Linked DNA regions of Homo sapiens: all the other regions are linked to region 1. Evidence: promoter capture Hi-C in human tissues and cell types (Jung and others, 2019). All regions are on one chromosome and are shown on one strand. The core of a region is centred on a gene start or on the middle of the fragment in contact, and the rest is flanking DNA. Distances in the headings are between cores, read along the strand shown.

The links. Contacts are between HindIII fragments. The study calls those that stand out against the background at their distance.
Region 2: a contact is called between a fragment that was not itself captured here and the fragment with the promoter of NDRG4 in region 1, in 1 of the 25 tissues and cell types used here (mesendoderm cells).
Region 3: a fragment that was not itself captured here is called in contact with the fragment with the promoter of NDRG4 in region 1 in 2 of the 25 tissues and cell types used here (dorsolateral prefrontal cortex and spleen).

Annotation. Positions count from the first base shown.
Region 1 is chr16:58,498,391-58,502,754 of GRCh38, forward strand. NDRG4 (NDRG family member 4) reads left to right here and starts at 1,753. Exons shown (of 15, transcript NM_001242835.2): 1 at 1,753-1,879. The coding sequence starts at 1,859. RefSeq lists silencers at 1,582-1,661, 1,672-1,731 and enhancers at 1,611-2,427, 2,428-3,245, 3,246-4,062, 3,655-3,704. The HindIII fragment of the contact is 53,618 bases long and covers 1-4,364 here.
Region 2 is chr16:58,647,064-58,651,427 of GRCh38, forward strand. No RefSeq gene overlaps it. Among named protein-coding and RNA genes, the nearest start is that of CNOT1, 19 kb to the left of the region's middle. The HindIII fragment of the contact is 8,503 bases long and covers 1-4,364 here.
Region 3 is chr16:58,366,104-58,370,467 of GRCh38, forward strand. No RefSeq gene overlaps it. Among named protein-coding and RNA genes, the nearest start is that of GINS3, 24 kb to the right of the region's middle. The HindIII fragment of the contact is 5,593 bases long and covers 1-4,364 here.

The DNA of each region.
Region 1 (4,364 bases), core at 503-3,002:
AGGCAGAGGACATGACCAGCAATAGTGTACATAGCAGGTGTCGACCAGGTCAGCAGGTACCCAGAGATGAAGAGATGACCACTTTCTCCAAGGGCAGCCAGTCAGCATGCAGGGCCATCAGCATGGGCTGGGGTGAGTGGCGTGTTCCTTCTTCAGCAAGACAGGGAGAGGAAGCCGGATAGGAGGCAGCTACTGACGTTGACATGCCCACCTCCTGTAGACCCACCCGGCCCTTGTTCCTGGAGGCAACCAGTTTGGGGCTTGGCTCTCGGGTATCTGGGGAGCAGGACACTAGGGCTATCTCAGGCTCTGTGCCCTGACCCCACCCTTGCCCAGGCCCTGGCAGGAGAGAAATGGGGCAGTCTGTGTGCCTCTCCAAACTGTTGGCCCCTTTTCTGGCAGTTGTGCAGTTATCGTGGCCAGACAAGGCAGGGTCAGGTCTTGCCAGCCAAACCCTGATCCCACTCATAGGTCTGCCACTTCTTTGCTGTGTGACCTTGGGCAAGTCAGTCAACCTCTCTGAGCCTCCATATATAAATGGGAGAAACAGCAGTGCCTACTGCACAGGCAGTTGCAACGATAATACATATAATCTTCATGGATTTGGGAGCATAGGCACGCAGCAGCCCCCTTCTCTCTGTGGCTCCTGCTCTCCCAGCCTTGGGCCCCCTCCTCTGCTTCCCTCTCTGGCCTATTTCCTCTCCTCCTGTGCACTTCTTGGCCTTTCTTCTCCTCTGCTCACTCCACCTGCAGGCCTCGGGCGAGCTCGCCACCCAGATCCTTGCTGCCCAGGAGAACAGGGCACGGAGCCTGAGATAGACCTAGTGTTCTGCTCCCCAGAGACCCGAGAGCCAAGCCCCAAACTGGTTGCCTCTGGGAACGAGGGCCGGGTGGGTCTACAGGAGGTGGGCATGTCAATGTCAGCAAGCTGCCTCCTAGCCCCGCTTCCTCTCCCTGGTGGTCTGGAGCCCCTGGCAGCAGGGTGAGGGTGGGGAGGGCAGAGCTGGTGTGTGCCTGACCATACCCCTGGCCCTGCTATCTGCCCAGGGCCCCTGGCCCCCGGCCCCCAAACTCCATTTTCAGCATGTGGGGAAACCCCCTGTATCTGCGTGGGCAAGGTGGGATTTTCATCCCTGGTGGGTGGAGAAGGAGCAGCCCCTTGAAGCAGGGTGATAACCCAAGTTGCCCCAGAAAGCAGCAGCTCCCCAGGCCTCCACAAGGTTAAGCGATGGAACCTTCCTAATGGGAAGGCTGGGCGTGGGGGTCTGGTCCCCAAGATGTTGGGCTTGGGGCCCTCTCGGGCCCTCCATACTCCCCAAGGTGTGGGTCAAGGGCTCTAGCTGTCTGGGCAGTGCCCATGCACCCTGCCCTGCCCCGCATTGGTAAGCTGTGCATGTCTGTGACGACCCTGTGTGTACCTGACATGGGTGAGTCTGTACGTGTGGTCTCGGCTTTTGTATTCGGAGGATCCCGTGTGAGCTGCAGCTGTTGGCGTGTGCCTATGTGCTGGGGGCGGATGCAGGGGCTGGGGACCATCAAGGATGATGTGTGGCTGGGGTGGGAGGAGCAGTGACAGGGCTGGGGCAAGGAGGACTTCAGAAGCCAATTGGAGCCAGGCTTGTCTCCCAGCAGCCAATATGGGAGCTGGGGCTCCTGGTAAGCGAGTGGCTGCTCAGAAACCCTGCGGGGAGGAGGGGCTAGCTAGGCTGGGCCAGGATCCCTGTATAAATGGCCCAGGAGCTGTGCCCCATCACAGAGCCGACCATCTCCCACTCGAGCTGCCCCCGCCCTCTGGACCCGAGTGACTCAGGCCTTTGTTTGTCCTTCCTGGTAGAGGCGGGTTCCCTCCCTCGGCAAGATGCCGGAGTGCTGGGATGGGGTGAGTGAGGGCGCTGCGGGCATCAAGGTGGGCCGGGAGGATGGTGCATCCTTATGACCCACCGCAGGGAGGAAGTGCCCCCCTCAACCCACATCTGGTGGCAGCCCGGCCTTCAAATAGCCTCACCCTGGGGTCACTGAGACACGGCCAGAGTGCTCCAGGTTCCCTGGTGATCCTGTTTGCAGGAGTGGCTGGGGGCAGCTGCTAGTCAGAGCCCATAGCAGGGGCTGGGGGGAGCGTGTGGTTGGGGGGTGGGTGACATATCTGCAGGAAATGGAACGTGGAAGGCACTGTCTGACTTGGCTGCATTGCCCGTGTGGACCCGGGCGCTAGTGCCTGCATGTCCCTCTGACCGTGTGCCCTCTGGTGTGCGCTTGGATGGTGTCTGCCTTGGTGATGCCTGGGGCCATCAGGCCAGGGGGCGGGGGTGTCCTTGGTGAGCCCCCGAGGCTGTGTGCCCAGTGTGCGTGCCGGGTCTGTGCGTGCAGGGGCTGCCGTCCCAGTGGGCGGCCGTCTAGCTTGTTTGGATGGCTGCGCCAGTGTGATGGGAAGGACAGGCGGCCTCTTCCTTAGGAGCCACCTCACAGTTCCCAGGGCTCTGCTGCGCCAGCCGGGCAGAGGCAAGGAGGTCTGGGCCACACAGGAATGACAGCCTTTCAGGCAGGGGTCCCTGCTGGGGAGGAACGAGGAGGGGTTGCCTGCCTGCCTTATTTTGTAGGTGGGGGAAGGCAACGCTGGAGCCGTGAAGCTGGCAGGGCTAGGGGACCCCAGGTGGAGCCCAGGGCACCTCCTCTCGCCGGGGCATCAGGTACCCCGGCCCCATTCTTCCTCAGGAGGGAGAGGCAGGGGCAGACTCACCCCCACCCCCGGGCCCCACACGCCTGCCCTGCCGGTTCCGCAGACGATAGGTCACCCCGCACGCACGGAGGTGACGACGTCAGCACCTGCCCGCCCATGCAGACCCTGTCCCCTGAATTATTGATGCGGCTGACAGGCCGAACCACAGCACCACCAGCACCAACTCCCACACCGGCGCAAAGCCCGGCTCAAAGCCCCACTCCCCTCCAGTGCTCAAGGTCACAGGCGAGGGGAGACGGACCGACCGAGAGGAGCCGCCACAGCCCCCTCCCCTGCTGCCGCAGTGCTTCCCGCCTGCGCCTACCTGGAGGCGGGGCCGGCTCTGACGTCACCCAGAGCCAATGGGAGTGCTCGGCCCTGAGGGTTGGGGGCCTCAGAGTGCACCGCGCTGTGGCCCTTGTGGGGCTGCCCTTGCGCAGCGCTCCAAGGGACGGGGATGTTTGGCTTCGATCAGGCTGAACTGAGTCCTGAGCTCTCCGCAGAGGGTGAGAGAAGGCGTTAGGGAGGTTCGCAGCAGGGTTCAGCGAAGGTCACTGGACTTCGTAGGACAGGTAGCCCGGTGACGCCCAGGCCCAGCCCCAGCCCTTCCCATCCTGGGAGATGAGCCCTAGTAGAGCCTGATCACGTCACCTCAGGGGGATGGGGACAGGGGCGGCCACACCAGGGCTGGGAGAAGACAGTGGGGCCTCCTCAGCAGCAGAGAGCAGACACCCCTCACACCCCTCAGGCGGACCCGCACGCTGCGGGTCTGGGTTTGGAAGGCACCGCCCTGGGCTCTCGACGTCTGACCCCAGGAGGATAACTGTCCTTTATGCAGCAGGAGGCGCATTGCAGTTCTTTTGCAGCCCCACCCTCCAGAGCTGAGAGAACTCACAGGTGGCTGTGAAAGGGCTGCCTGGTCAGGAGCTCCCTCGGGTGGAACCTGATCTCCTGTGAACATGCAGCCTTCAGTGCACCGCCCTGGCCCCTGAGACTGGCACCTGGCAGGGCCTGCCCTCCCTACTCTGGGATTGACCTTGGGCAAGTCATTTCCCTTTCCTAGCCTCAATTTCCTCCTCTATGGCTTGGGCCTATGTGGGAAGTAAATGAGAAAACTGTGGGTCAGTGGTCAGTGGCGGGGAAGTGTTCCTGGATTTGATGGGCCCCGAGAAAGGATAGGCCTGGGATGGGAGGGGCTGTGTGGTCTGTCCCCTCTCAGCCCTGGTGTGGCCTCCTCATCCCCTGGGTGGTGCAATCAGCCGCATGGCTCACCCTAAGGCTCATTACCTGGGCTCTCCTGGAGGACAACAGGGAAATAAAAAGGGCCTGCAAGTCAAAGAGTGTTCTCCAGGGTAGAGCCTTTGGCCACCAGGTTGGTGCCAGCTTGTCACTCCACACTGGAGACACAGGCCTGGACAGTGGTCCTCTGAGACCAGACCCACTAATGCTGGCCCCTGAGCAGCTGTCTTCTGCTGTCTAAATCTCCTTTCCCATTTGGAGGCAGGAACTCAGGTTCTTTCTAAACCAAAGTGTCCTCACCTGCAAAACAGGGACTAGGGTTCCTGTCTCTTGGGTAACATGCAGGAAGCCTGGCACACAGTAGGTGCTCAGTCGCTTGATGTTTCTTTCATGTCCTTGACCCCAGCCC
Region 2 (4,364 bases), core at 797-3,296, 150 kb after region 1:
TCTCAGATGAGGAAACTGAAGCTCAGACAGGTTTGTTTGCTCAAGGTCACATAGCTATATGTGACCATATATATGCTATATGCCATATGCTATATGGGCTCTGCTATATGTCAGAGCCCAAATTTGAACTAATCAGTCTGTTTCCGGGGCACATATTATGCTAAACTTCTTTCCCTACATGATGTAAATCCTCACAACACTAAGTTTATTGTTGCCCATTTCATAGATGAGGAAACTAAGGCCGGCAGAGGTTAAGGAACAGCTGGGAGGTGTTGGAGATGAGACTTGTATGGCCTCTGGCTCATCCAGGCGTGTGAACTGACTGCAGCTTTTAGTATGCTCAGGATGGTTTCCTTTCCATGGGATTTTACTCATATGATCTGAAATTAAGGTCCACGAGGCAATGGATTGGTGAAAACACTGGGACCCAGAGATGGGGAGTGACTGGCCAAGGTGATATCAACTAAGACCCAGCTCTGTCGCCTAGGCTGGAATGCAGCGGCACGATCTCGGCTCACTGCAACCTCCTCCTCCCGGGTTCAAGCAATTCTCCTGCCTCAGCCTCCTGAGTAGCTGGGATTACAGGCGCACGCCACCTCGCCCGGCTAATTTTTATATTTTTTGTAGAGACGGGGTTTCACCGTGGGCATTTTTTTTAAAAGAGACAGGGACCTGGCTATGTTGCCTACGCTAGTCTTGAACTCCTGAGCTCAAGTGGTCTTCCCGCCTCGGCACCCCAAAGTGCTGGGACTACAGGCATGAGCCACCATATCTGGCCCAGGCTTTAGTTTTTTTCTTAATTTTTTACAAACTTGCCCCACTCTCTCTTCATTTTAAAGGGAACTTATGCTCCTGTTTGGCTGGGCTGGGCTGCTTTGATTAAATCTCATGCAGGGCTGCTCCCAGAAAGCAGAGATCCTCTCTAACGGGAGCTAAACCTAACTTCACATGGTTTAGTTAAGATGAGAGGAGTCTTAGCCAGGCACAGTGGCTCACACCTGTAATCCCAGCACTTTGGGAGGCTGAGGCAGGAGGATCACTTGAGGTCAGGAGTTCGAGACCAACCTGGCCAACATGACGAAACCCTGTCTCTACTAAAAATACAAAAATTAGCTGAGCGCAGTGGTGGGCCCCTGTAATCCTAGCTACTCAGGAGGCTGAGGCAGGAGAATCACTTGAACCCGGGAGGTGCAGGTTGCAGTGACCCGAGATCGTGCCATTGCACTCCAGCCTGGACGACAGAGCGAGACTGTCTCAAAACCAAACAAACAAACAAACAAAAAGATGAGAGAAGTCTTCCAAGGCCCAGCCCAGTGCTAAATGAACCCTCCTTCTTTTCACTGCTGGTCTGCCCTCAGCAGGATGTAGGCCATAAAGAAAGAACCACTTTTTTAAGCCTAAACATCTTCTTGCTGTGTAACTTCACAACACTTGCTTCCCTCTCTGGGTCTCAGGTTACCTTTTTCTGTAGTGGGAGGGTGGCAGCCAATGACTGCTGAGGTCTTTCTGACTAGGAAATCCTATGGCTGCAGTTGAAGCTTGCCACTAATGATCCTGCAGACACCACCATCCATAGCTGCCACCACAACCCATATGGCTGGCGGGGCTGAAGGCAGGCCAGGAACCAGCTGCAAGATCTGGGGGAGCATGAGTCCTCAGCGAGGACCCCAGAAAACAAAGGGAAGCCAATGTTCTCTTGCCAACACAGGGCTGCCTCCCAAGAGGCCCACTTCCAGGCAGCTGGGCAGCTTCCTGGCCACAGGACTGGCTGCATAATGTGCAGGGCCCTTGTTCAAGAGTTAGGAAGAATTTAGGCTGGGCTCGGTGGCTCATGCCTGTAATCCCAACACTTTGGGAGGCCGAGGCGGGCGGATCACTTGAGGTCAAGAGTTCGAGGCCAGCCTGGCCAACATGGCGAAACCTCATCTCTACTAAAAATACAAAAATTAACTGGGTGTGGTGGCTGGCGCCTATAATCCCAGCTACTCGGGAGGCTGAGGCAGGAGAATCGCTTGAACTCGGGAGGCCAGGGTTGCTATGAGCCAAGATTGGGTCAGTGAACTGTAGCCTGGGCGACAGAGCAAGACTCTGTCTCAAAAAAAAAAAAAAAAAAAAAAAAATTCAAGAGCATTAAACCAAGAGCAGGGACATTCTAAACAGAGGTCCCTGAGTGACTGCGTGGGTCACATACCCATGACATTTACCCTGCCTGGCCACCCCAAGACACAGTACCAAAGGATCACTTTCTTTCACTTTCACAGGTTTTTTGTTTGTTTGTTTTGTGACGGAGTCTCACTCTGTCGCCCAGGCTGGAGTGCAGTGGTGCCATCTCGGCTCACTGCAGGCTCCACCTCCTGGGTTCACGCCATTCTCCCGCGTCAGCCTCCCGAGTAGCTGGGACTACAGGAGTCCGCCACCACGCCCGGCTAATTTTTTGTATTTTTAGTAGAGACGGGGTTTCACCGTGTTAGCCAGGATGGTCTCGATCTCCTGACCTTGTGATTTGCCCGCCTCAGCCTCCCAAAGTGCTGGGATTACAGGCTTGAGCCACTGCGCCCGGCCGATCACTTTCACAGGTTTTTACAGTCCCGAGGGACTCTTCATTAAAGCCTCCGTGCTCTGGCTGAGTGGTGGTCCTGGCTGCAGCTCCACAGAGGAGGGAGAGAATTCTGGCTGGGAAATGGCCCTACTGGGTGAGGCAGGGTCTTCTTCTCAGGGATGAAGGTCATCTGGCCTACTTTTTCCTTCTTACAAGCCACAGCTATGCTGAAGGTCCCAAAGGAGCTCCGATTGACCTAGTGCCAGGCTGTAAAGGCTGCGGGCAAGGCAGACTCAGGACTCCAGAGCCAGAAACTCTGGAGGACGTTAGAAGAGCAAGCAGCTCAGTGTGGCAGAATGAGCCCAGCCCAGCCAAATAGGAGCATAAATTCCCTTTAAAATGAAGAAAGGGTGGGGCAAGATTGTAAACAATTAAGAAAAAAACTAAAACCTGGTCCAGGCATGGTGGCTAATGCCTTGCCTGTAGTCCTGGCAGTTTGGGATACCAAGGTGGGAGGATCACTTGAGCTCAGGAGTTCAAGACCAGCCTGGGCAACATAGCCAGACCCCTGTCTCTTTTATTTTTTTTTTTGAGACGGCGTCTCACTCTGTCGCCCAGGATGGAGTGCAGTGGCACCATCTCGGCTCACTGCAAGCTCCGCCTCCTCTGTTCACACCATTCTCTTGCCTCAGCCTCCTGAGTAGTTGGGACTACAGGCGCCTGCCACCACGCCCGGCTAATTTTTTGTGTATTTAGTAGAGACGGGGTTTCACCATGTTAGCCAGGATGATCTTGATCTTTTGACCTCGTGATCCGCCCGCCTCGGCCTCCCAAAGTGCTGGGATTACAGGCGTGAGCCACCGCACCCAGCCTAGACCCCTGTCTCTTAAAAAAAAAAAAAAAAAAATTGGCCAGACGCGGTGGCTCACACTTGTAATCTCAGCACTTTGGGAGGCTGAGGCAGGCAGATCACGAGGTCAGGAGTTTGAGACCAGCCTGACCAACATGGTGAAACCCCATCTCTACAAAAAATACAAAAATTAGCCAGGCGTGGTGGCCTGCACCTGTAATTCCAGCTACTCAGGAGCTATTCTACTGAGGCAGGAGAATCGCTTGAACCCGGGAGGTGGAGGTTGCAGTGAGCCAAGATCATGCCACTGCACTCCAGCCTAGGCAACAGAGTGAGACTCTGTCTCAAAAAAAAAAAAAGGCCAGGCGGGTGGCTCACGCTTGTAATCCCAGCACTTTGGGAGGCTGAGGCGGGCGGATCACCTGAGGTTATGAGTTCAAGACCAGCCTGACCAACATGGAGAAACCCCATCTCTACTAAAAATACAAAAAAATTAGCCGGGCATGGTGGCCCATGCTTGTAATCCCAGCTACTCAGGAGGCTGAGGCAGGAGAATCGCTTGAACTCAGGAGGTGGAGGTTGCAGTGAGCAGAGATTGCGCCATTGCACTCCAGCCTGGGCAACAAGAGTGAAACTCCATCTCAAAAAAAAAACACCAAAAAAAAAAATCAACAACCAAAACCTGATTACCCAGCAGAGCACCCTGGCAGGATGCACTTGATAGAGTGGTGTGTTCTGTGTTCTGGTGGCCACACCTGCAGTGCACACACCCTGGGCCAGCCCAAATGCTGAGGACGTTCCAACACTGAGCTCACTTAATTCACCCAACAAACTTGTCCGATGTTTATTTTTGTTTTCACCATGTAGAAGTAGAAATTTGGACTCAGAGAGGTAAAGTGTCTTTCCTGAGGTTTTTTATGCAATGCGTTTACAGCTCACTGATCAAATTATAATGCACAGGAAGTGTTATACACA
Region 3 (4,364 bases), core at 589-3,088, 130 kb before region 1:
ACATGGAGGGAGCAGAAGCCAGAGTACAGGCTCAGGGGATGGAGAAGTGAGGGTGGCGTAAGAGGTGGACACAGCAAGGGCACACTATATGTTTGAGAAATTTAATTCAAGATGAAAAAGGAGAGGAGTTAAGCAATGGTTAAGGCCACACAGCGTCATAGGGATATTTTTGAACTCATACCATAGTTTTATATAGAGATGAAAAAAACCCAGAGCTCAGAGAGTCCTCTTCAGCTTTATAAAATCAAACTTGTCAAGTTAATGGACTTATTTAAGTGAGTCAGACCCCATTAGAGCATATGTCACTTGACTGTTATAGGTACACAGCCATGACTCAGAAATGCTGACACAAAGCCATGTGGTACGATATATTACTAAGCAGTGCTTATGCATTGTCACACAGTGATTAGAAAGATTGCATTGTGGTATATGGCTGGCAGAACAGCTCAGAACTATATAAGTGACGTTTCTCTTTGTGGAAATTTTGGGAACTTGTATTTGATTACAAAATGCCTTGAGATTATAAATCCAATCGGCAGATATAGAAAACTTACAGCATAGCTTTCTTCATATCACAGCCTCTGTAAGAAAAATGTATTAATTTAATTTCATATAACTTTTTTTATTGGTTCAAGTGATTAATTCTTCTAAGCAGATGCTAGTGTGATGTAGTGATTAAGAGCACAAGCAATGAACTTCAATAGACTTGTGTTTTGAATACAAGGTCAACCACTTATGAGCTATGAGATCTTGGGTAATGTCTTAGTCTATTTCGTGCTGCTGTAACAGAGTAACCACAGACTGGGTAATTTATAAAGAACATAAATTTATTTTCTCACTGTTCTGGAAACTGGGAAGTCCAAGATCAAGGTGCTGGTATCCAGTGAGGGCCTTCTTGCTGTATCATCCCATGGCAGAAGGTGGAAAGGCAAAAGAGAACCCAGGCACACAGGAAGAGGGCTGAACTTGCTTTTATAACAAACCCACTCTTCTGGGTTAATCTATAGATAAGGGCAGAGTCTTCATGACCTAATCTCTTCTTAAAGTTTCTACCTCTTAACACTGTTGCATTGGGGATTAAGCTTCCAAGACATGAACTTTGTAGGACACTTTCAAAGCATAGCAGGTAAATTCCTAATTTGTAAAATGAGGAAAATAATAGTTCCCACCACAGAGAGTTGTTATGCAGGTGAAAGTGAGGTCATGCATATGCAGTGCTTGGCACAGTATATGACACCTAGTAGAGGCTCAGTGAGCATGAGATGAATTTCAATTCACTGGGGCCAACAGGGAGACCCTGCTAGGAAGGGAACCTCAGGCACAAAGGGCTAAAGGCAATAATAACTGTGGCTGAGCTTGGAGAGGAGAGGATGTGGGTGAAAACTGACAGAAAATGAGATAGGCAGAGCAGTAACAAGGTATATGGATCTTCTGTTGGGGAAAAAAAATCCTATAGCAAAGCTTCAAATAGTATTGTTATTTTATATATGCATATATATATATATATTCTATATCTACACATACGTATACACTACGTGTTACCACCAGAGTCTTTTCTGTGCTTTGCTAAACCTATTATTACAGGGATATTTCCTGAGCCACTGTATCTTTTTTTTTTTTTTTTTTTTTTTTTTTTTGGAGATGGGGTCTCACCCTGTCACCCAGGCTGGAGTGCAGTCCTGCAATCTCAGCTCACTGCAACCTCCTCCTCCTGGGCTCAAGTGATTCTCCTGCCTCAGCCTCCTAAGTAGCTGGATTACAGGCACCCACCACCACGCCTGGCTCATTTTTGTATTTTTAGTAGAGACAGGGTTTCGCCATGTTGGCCGGGCTGGTCTAAAACTCCTGACCTCAGATGATCTGTCCCCCTCGGCCTCCCAAAGTGCTGGGATTACAGGTGTGAGCCACCACACTAACCTGTTTCTGTTTCTCCACTCCAGTGTCCATCTCAGCTGCAACTGTACTTTGTGTCAACCAGTATTCAAGGGAGGACTCTGATTGGTTCAGTTAATCCTTTCAAGCCAAGCCCATGAGTTGTGCTCTGCTTGGAACAGGGGTTTGCCCATCCAATCAGCTGTATCCAGGGCTAGAGGGAAAGTGGAATCCCATGCTTCAGAACCTGCCCTTTCGTATAACAGGAGCTGAGACCATAAAATCTGCCATGGATGAGACCACACTGAGTAAGCAGCATCCTGAGTTATATCTATCTGTTGGAGGGATGGAGGAGAAAAGGCAGGCAGGTGTAAGACATGAGTGGCCAACTGTCCCAGTTTGCCTGGGACTAGGTTTAAATTTTTAATAGTAGTGAAACGTATATGTCATAACATTTATCATTCTAATGGCTTTCAAGCATGCTGGTCTGTGGTGTCATTGTGCAAACATCACCACCATCAATCTCTAGAACTTTTCATCTTTCCAAACTAAAACTTCACACATTATACACTAATTCCCCATTTCCCCTCTCCCCAGCCCCTGGCAACCATCTCCTCTCTGCCTCTATAAATCTGACTACTCTAAGTACCTCCTATAGGTGGAATCATATAGCATTTGTCCTTTTGTGACTGGCTTATTTCATGTAGCATAATGTCCTCGGGGTTCCTCTATGTTGTAGCATGTGTCAGAATTTCTTTCCTTTTGCAAGCTGAACAATATTCCACATTTTGTTTGCTCATTTATTCATCAATGGACCCTTGAGTTAGTTCTGCCTTTTAGGCTGTTGTGGGTGGGACCGGCTCAATTTTAACACTAAAAGTCTTGTGTCCCAAGAAACTTCTCAGTCCTGGGCAAACTGGGACAGTTGGTCATCCCAGACATAGACCCAGCTAGCATCCCCAAAACCAGGACACCAGCACAAGCAGCCAAGGGCATCATCACCAGGGAAACTCCACCTGCACAGGGCATGATTTTGGTGTCCCAGGAAAGGTGACTCTTCCCACACAGCCTCTGAGAACTAAGCAGGCTAAAGAGAGGCAGTTATCAGAGATCCTTAATGGAGCAGCCAATTCTCAGTGACAGAATTCATTATCCAAATGGGACACTGAACATAATACCCTCTCACACACACACATCCTCACAGTCCACGGGATTTGGTTTTGCCTAAGCCTGGCCTTATTCTTAAATACCAAAGTGCATCAATGATCTAACTCCTACAAAGCTGGGAGGGTTTTCCATTCACAATAGACCTTATAAAAATCATGCATTTTTCAGTAAATCAGAGATCTGCTTCTTCTCTCCTGTTTTTTTGTTTTTTTTTGAGACAAGGTCTCACTCTATTGCCCAGGCTGGAGTGCAGTGGCGTGATCACAGCTCACTGCAGCCTCAACTTCCCAGGCTCAAGCAATCCTTCCATCTTAGCCTCCCGAGTTTTTTGTACTACAGGTTTGCACCACACACCCAGCTCATTTTTTTTTTAAATCGAGATGGGGTTTCACCATGTTTCCCAGGCTGGTCTCGAATTCCTGGGCTCAAGTTATTCACCCGCCTCCCCCTCCCAAAGTGCTGGGATTATAGGCATGAACCACCGTGCCCAGTCCTCCTGTTTTTTGGGCACTATTTCTTAAATGCGCTAGCTGCCAAATGTACCACTTTTCTGTATATTTTTTTCACACTGCATTGCTTACAAGAAAACAGAATGCTCAGTTCCTGGCATTAAACACTTTTTTTTTTTTTTTTTGGTATTAGCGTCAGTACAATTGACAAGGCGTCTGTTTTTCATGGTCTGTAACGAGGTTTGTTGTGTGGTAAGAATGAGAACAGTAGGTTTTGGGGAGGTGTAATGTTCTATTTGCATTGCTTTCCCAACTGCTAGTGCTGACAGATTTGAGCATCTTTCAGGTCTGAAATATTTTACATCTTTCATGGCATTGGAGATGGGTAGAGGGAAAAAGTGTCTTTTTTCTAAAATACATGCTTAATCTGTTTAGCATGGGATCAAACCATACTTTCTGTACTTTAAGTCTCACATTCTAAATTTCAACTGCATTATATTGTCTTGCGTTTATGGAGATAGTGTGGGATGCAGGATTTTTTAAAGCGTATTTTTATAGACTCTTTAGTTAATTTTTCTATTTTCATTAAGTAAAAACCTTTATCTCCTAAAAAGAGGTTTCACCAACAAATATTAGGTGAACAGGATAAGCTGTAAGGAAGTTGAAAGAACTCAGTGATAGTGATGTGATATTGATCGTCATAAATAAAGTAAACAGGCAACCGGGCCTGTTTCTCAGGATCAGACAGCTGTAAGTAGCTTCACTTCAAGGGATCAGAATTGTCAGGGGGCATTCCTGATTCCTGCTGAAGTGTGAGTCTGCTTTACCTACAGCACACCCTCCAGCTCAACACATTAACGCAATAACAACACCTAC